2 separate regions of the Homo sapiens genome follow, and region 1 is linked to region 2. The links are contacts of gene promoters, found by promoter capture Hi-C in human tissues and cell types (Jung and others, 2019). All regions are on one chromosome and are shown on one strand. The core of a region is centred on a gene start or on the middle of the fragment in contact, and the rest is flanking DNA. Distances in the headings are between cores, read along the strand shown. Region 1 overlaps RNPEP (arginyl aminopeptidase). Region 2 holds the start of ARL8A (ARF like GTPase 8A).

What was found. Contacts are between HindIII fragments. The study calls those that stand out against the background at their distance.
Region 1: a fragment that was not itself captured here is called in contact with the fragment with the promoter of ARL8A in region 2 in 2 of the 25 tissues and cell types used here (dorsolateral prefrontal cortex and stomach).

The regions. Positions count from the first base shown.
Region 1 is chr1:201,994,128-201,996,827 of GRCh38, forward strand. It overlaps RNPEP (arginyl aminopeptidase), which reads left to right. Exons shown (of 11, transcript NM_020216.4): 4 at 2,020-2,136. Among named protein-coding and RNA genes, the nearest start is that of MIR6740, 7.6 kb to the right of the region's middle. The HindIII fragment of the contact is 5,206 bases long and covers 1-2,700 here.
Region 2 is chr1:202,143,396-202,146,095 of GRCh38, forward strand. It overlaps ARL8A (ARF like GTPase 8A), which reads right to left and starts at 1,342. Exons shown (of 7, transcript NM_138795.4): 1 at 1,055-1,342. The coding sequence starts at 1,177. RefSeq lists silencers at 283-332, 833-1,542. The HindIII fragment of the contact is 36,256 bases long and covers 1-2,700 here.

The DNA of each region.
Region 1 (2,700 bases), core at 28-2,527, 150 kb before region 2:
TAGTCCTTTTCTCATCTCCTTCCCTGACTCCTCTGCCCAGCTCCTTGTGTGTCGATGTTGCCCAAGGCTCTGTCTTTGACCTGTTCTTTTCTTCTACATGCTTTCCTTGGAGAGCTCACCCATTCTTGTAGTTTAACATATTTTCTGTGTTCTGCAGCCAGGATGATATCTTAAAACTAAATCTGATAATGTCACTTGTTGGCTTAAAATGCTCCCATGGCTCTGAAGGTCCGGTTCTGTAACAGTGCACCTGAGGCTCTTCATGACCCGACCCTCTTGGGCATCTCATGTCCCACCTCCTGCCACTGCCTCCCTCATTGCAATCTGATCCTGTCCTCAAGTAATCCCAGACTCTCGGTGCTTCCTCACATGCATATGCAGTGTTCCATGGCTACGTCTTTGCTTTTGATATTTGGGAAGTACCTGATACTGGTTTCCCTGTATCTTTTCTTCCTGTTAGAATAGTTCCTATGCTTCAGCAAACGCAGAGGAAGTTTTCCCTCATCCGGGCCTGGACCCATCCCACTTTGCCATCAGTCTCTTTTTTTTTTTTTTTTGAAACAGAGTCTTACTCTGTCACCCAGGCTGGAGTGCGATGGTGCAATCTTGGCTCCCCGCAACCTCTGCCACCCAGGTTCAAGCGATTCTCCTGCCTCAGCCTCTCAGGTAGCTGGGATTACAGGCATACACTACCATGTCCTGCTAATTTTTTTTTTTTTTTTTTTTTTTTTTAGTAGAAACAGCCTTTCACCATGTTGGTCAGGCTGGTCTGGTACTCTTGACCTCAGGTGAACCACCCACTTCGGCCTACCGAAGTACTGGGATTACAGACATGAGCCACCAGGCCCAGCCAGTCTCATTCATATGTCTGTGTGGAAAAGCAGTTCTAAGCGCAGCCAGGGGCTCTTGGTCAAGCAGAGCCTTTGGCTGCAGGATCCCTGAGTCCATTGCATCTTTCCATTAGACTGGATCTTCTTGTTTTGTTTTTGTTTTTGTTTTTGTTTCCTCCAAGCCACCTTTGTTTCCCTATCTTTTTATTAAGAAAATTTCAAATATTTAGAAAATTGAAAGGATGATGCATTGAACACCTATAGAACCATCTACTTTGTCATATTAGTTTTATGAGTGGATTTGTTTTTATTTTTGCTAGACCATTTAAAAGCAAGTAAATCTGTGTGCCTCTCTGAAGAATAGAGGCATTCTCCCTTATAACCACAATCCCATTATTGTACCTAAGGCAGTTAACAAATTTCTATTAACATTAGTAGGTTTGGGTCGGACACAGTGGCTCATGCCTATAATCCCAGCACTTTGAGAGGCTGAGGCAGGTGAATCACTTGAGCCCAGGAGTTCAAGACCAGCCAGGGCAACATAGCGAAACCCTACCTCTACAAAAATAAAAAAATTAGCCAGGCATGATGATGTGCAACTGTAGTCCTAGCTACTGGGGTTGGGGAGCTGAGATGGAAGGATCACTTGAGCCCCAGGAGGTGGAGGTTGGATCACACCACTGTACTCTAGCCTGGGCAACAGAGCAAGAACCTGTCTTAAAAAAAAAATAAAAAAGGTTTGTCTCTTAAGGTTTTATTCAATTCCAGATTCTACTATTAGAACGCTTTCTTATCTCTCCTCTAAGTAGGGAGAAGAAAACTAACATTTACTGTATAAATGTTTGAAGGGCTTTTGTGTGTTGTCTTATTTAATCTTCACTCATTTTACAGATGAGGAAACTGAGGCTCACAGAGGTTAAATCACTTTTGCAAGATCGCATTCAGTAGTGAAGCCATAACTGCGTAGCACGGTTCCACCTCCATGAGGCTGTCTTGGGTTCTTGTTTCTCAGGTGTGGTGAGCGGTCTCTTGGATCTGTGTGGTGATCCGATCTTGCACTCCGTCACTGTGGCTGACTGCATTGTCACATTCACTTGGCGGAGGCCAATTTCCTACAGGTGCTTTCAGGATCAGGTCACTGCGATGGTCTCTAAACACCATTCTGCTTTCTCTGCTCTCTTGTCTTTAGGAGCCGGGTGTGGGCTGAGCCCTGCCTGATTGATGCTGCCAAGGAGGAGTACAACGGGGTGATAGAAGAATTTTTGGCAACAGGAGAGAAGCTTTTTGGACCTTATGTTTGGGGAAGGTGTGGTATCACATTGACTCTAGTGTCTCCTGTTAAACTGAGTCACTGGCTTCCATTCTTCCTCTTCGTGTGGCTTTTCCACCTCCTGCCTCCCAGAGCAAAGTTTCCCTGATCCCAGAAGTGAAGGAGAGGAGGAAGAGAGGAGGGTATGAGCCAGGCTTCTCACTGTTGCTGAGGAGAGGGCCTAGGAGATGAGGTTCTTTGTGTGTGTGTGTGTGTGTGTGTGTGTGTGTGTGTGTGTGTGTTTTGAGATGGAGTCTCGCTCTGTCACCCAGGCTGGAGGGCAGTGGCGTGATCTCAGCTCACTGCAACCTCCACCTCCCAGGTTCAAGCGATTCTCCTGCCTCAGCCTCCAGAGTAGCTGGGATTACAGACGCCCTCCACCACACTCAGCTAATTTTTGTATTTTTAGTAGAGACAGGGTTTCACCATGTTGGCCAGGCTGGTCTCGAACTCCTGACCTCAGGTGATCTGTCCACCTTGGTCCCAAAGTGCTGGGATTACAGGTGTGAGCCACCAGGCCCGGCAGAGAAGAGGTTCTTGAGGTGTTCAAAATGTGACCTG
Region 2 (2,700 bases), core at 92-2,591:
CCTATCTCATCAGTATCTTTGGTTACTATCTGGCCAACTCACAGTTGTGGGAAACCTCAGCTTTGGGACTGGGGCCAGGTCCCTGGACAACCCCAGCCCCTGTCCCATGCTTCCTCGACCCACAAGCCCTGTCTAGCCTGGCTCTGACAGGCAGGCCGCAGCCATTACGGCAGCCTCAGCTCACACCCATGGAGCTCATCTTCCCCTTTTTTGAGAGAGATTTTAACTCCTTCCCCACCACTCCCCTGGCGCTGAAAGACTTACAATCACCCACTTCAGTGTTGACGACCCAAAGCCCTTAGAGCCACTCTCCCAAGGCCCCAGTGGGCCGTGCCCCTACACCTCATCCTCTCTTGTCGGGAGCACCTGCTCCTGCAAACTTCTGAGCCAGACGGAGTCTCCAAACTCCCGTTACCATGCGATCCTCCCTGGACCCCCGGCTAGACACTGCGGGTCGGGGAGAAGTTGGGGAGGAGTCTGGGCTTGAGCCAAGGGCCTCAGCTGACTCCTCTACCCCGGGGGATACCTCCCCTCCCCCTCAATAGGGCCGGGGCTTCCTCTTCCGGCAAGGAGGGGTTAAGCCCTCTGGGTGGGGCTGGGCTTGCCCAAACCCCCTCCTCAAGCCTCTCGGCCGCCCCGTCCCGTGACCCTCTACCCGCGGGACAGGAAGGCCCGTGCACTTTCGCCCCGTCATGCCCCCTTGCGCGGGGGCCAGAGGGGGCCCGTCTCAGCCGGCAGCGGGTCCCTCCTGCTTCGAGAGCCCCTCGGTGCCGCCTGCCCCGTGGCACCGGCCCTGTCTGTTCGTCCCCCTTCCCCTGCCCCCAGCCGTGCAGTACCGGCCCGGGTGAGAGAGCGGGTCGCGCGCCGCCCCGGTCCCCCACGGCACGGGCCGTACTAGGCCCCAAGCGCTCGGGGCCGGCTCCTCCCCCGCCCGGCGCCCGGCCGTGCCCGGCTATGCCAGGCGGCGACCCCGGCTCAGCAGGGCGCGGCGCGGGCGGGGACAGGCCCGACCCGCGGCCCGCGCCCGGGGACCCCGCGCCCGACGCCCTCGTACCGCGATCACGTTGACGAAGGTGGTCTTGCCCGAGTACTGAAGCCCGACCAGCGTGAGCTCCATCTCCTCCTTCCAGAATAGGGCCTTGAACCAGTCCAGCAGCTTGTTGAACAAAGCGATCATGGTCGCTGCCGCCGGCCCCGCCCGGTGCCAGGTCCCCGCCGCCCCTCGCTGCCCTCGCGCTGCGGCCCGGAGCGGCCCCTCCCCGGTACGGCCCGGGTCCCGCGGCTCGGTGCGGGCGGAGGCTCGAGCGCGGCTGCCGACGACTCGCTGCCCCGGAATCGGCTCGCCGATGGGTGTGGCTTCCGCGCCCTCCTCCTCCGCCGCCGCCGCCGCCCTCCCTCGCGGCCGGGCCGTGTCCTGCTCGCACCCGAGCGCGCGCTCCTCCCTCGCTGGAGCCGGGGGGCCAGGGGCCGCACCCGCAGGTGGGGTGAGCAGGGAATCCGCAGGTGGGGTGAGCAGGGAATCCGCAGGCTTCAGCGGCGGGGGTTGACCGGCAGCTGGCGTCGAGAGGCGCTTGGGAAATGGGGTCTAATTTATTTTAGACCCTGTCCCCGACTGCCGCGCCCTGACTGGCACCCCCTTTCTTAAAGGGTGGTGGGCTCGAGGTGGGTGAGGTTCCGGTTAAGCAGGAGCCTTTTCAGGTTGAAGGAGAGTGGGTCACCCACTTCCCAGGACACGGAGATGAGATCTCTACGACAGGGAGGCAGATGGAGGCTTTTTTGTCCCTGAACCCTTGCCTCTGAGCATTCCTGGGTACAGTCCCATCCTCTCAAAATGCACCCAGTGCAGAGGGACAACCGTATTCGGGTCTTTTAATACTCCATCTTGTTTTGTTCACCACAATTTACCCCGACCACTTGTTAGGAAGCCTCTGGCCCCAAGTGAAACGGACGCTTGAACTTGCTCCGGATTTTTACCAGCATCCCCAAGATACCCAAACAGATACAGTCCTGGCAGGGGGTTTTCAGTGAGGAACGTCTGTGACAAAGGAAAATGTTGCCCTGTTTTGGTGAAAAGCAGAGTATTCTTCAGGAGGAGAAGTGATAGTTCTCCTCTTGAAGTGGGTCTGGAGTGCCTGCAAAGATGCCTTACTCCTGCCCCTCTCCTTGCAAGACCCACCCATAGGACCTGCTCAGGCAGGCTGACAACCTCAGCTGGCAGTCCCGGGTAGGCTCAGGCTTCGGGCAGTCCCCAGCCTATGCTGGCTGCCCGTTGGGGTTTGGTTTTCAAATGTAGTCATATGTAGTCTATTGTTTTAGTCAAAAGTGGGTAAACTATCAATATCAACCATATCTGTCCAATCAACTGGAGTTAGATGACCCCAAATAGTCAAACAGTTACCAAAGTAGAAGAATCACAAGGTTTCGGCTAGCATAATATTGTTTTTTTTTTTTTTTTTGATGGGGTCTCACTGTGTGGCCCAGGCTGGAGTGCAGCGGTGGGATCTCGACTCACTGCAGCCTCCACCTCCTCGGGCTCAGGTGATTCTTCTACCTCAGCCTCCCGAGTAGCTGGGACTACAGGCATGCGCCACCATGCCAGCCTAATTTTTGTATATTTGGTAGAGACGGGGTTTTGCCATGTTGTCCAGGCTGGTCTCGAAGCCCTGAGCTCAAGCCATCTGCCTGCCTCAGCCTCCCAAA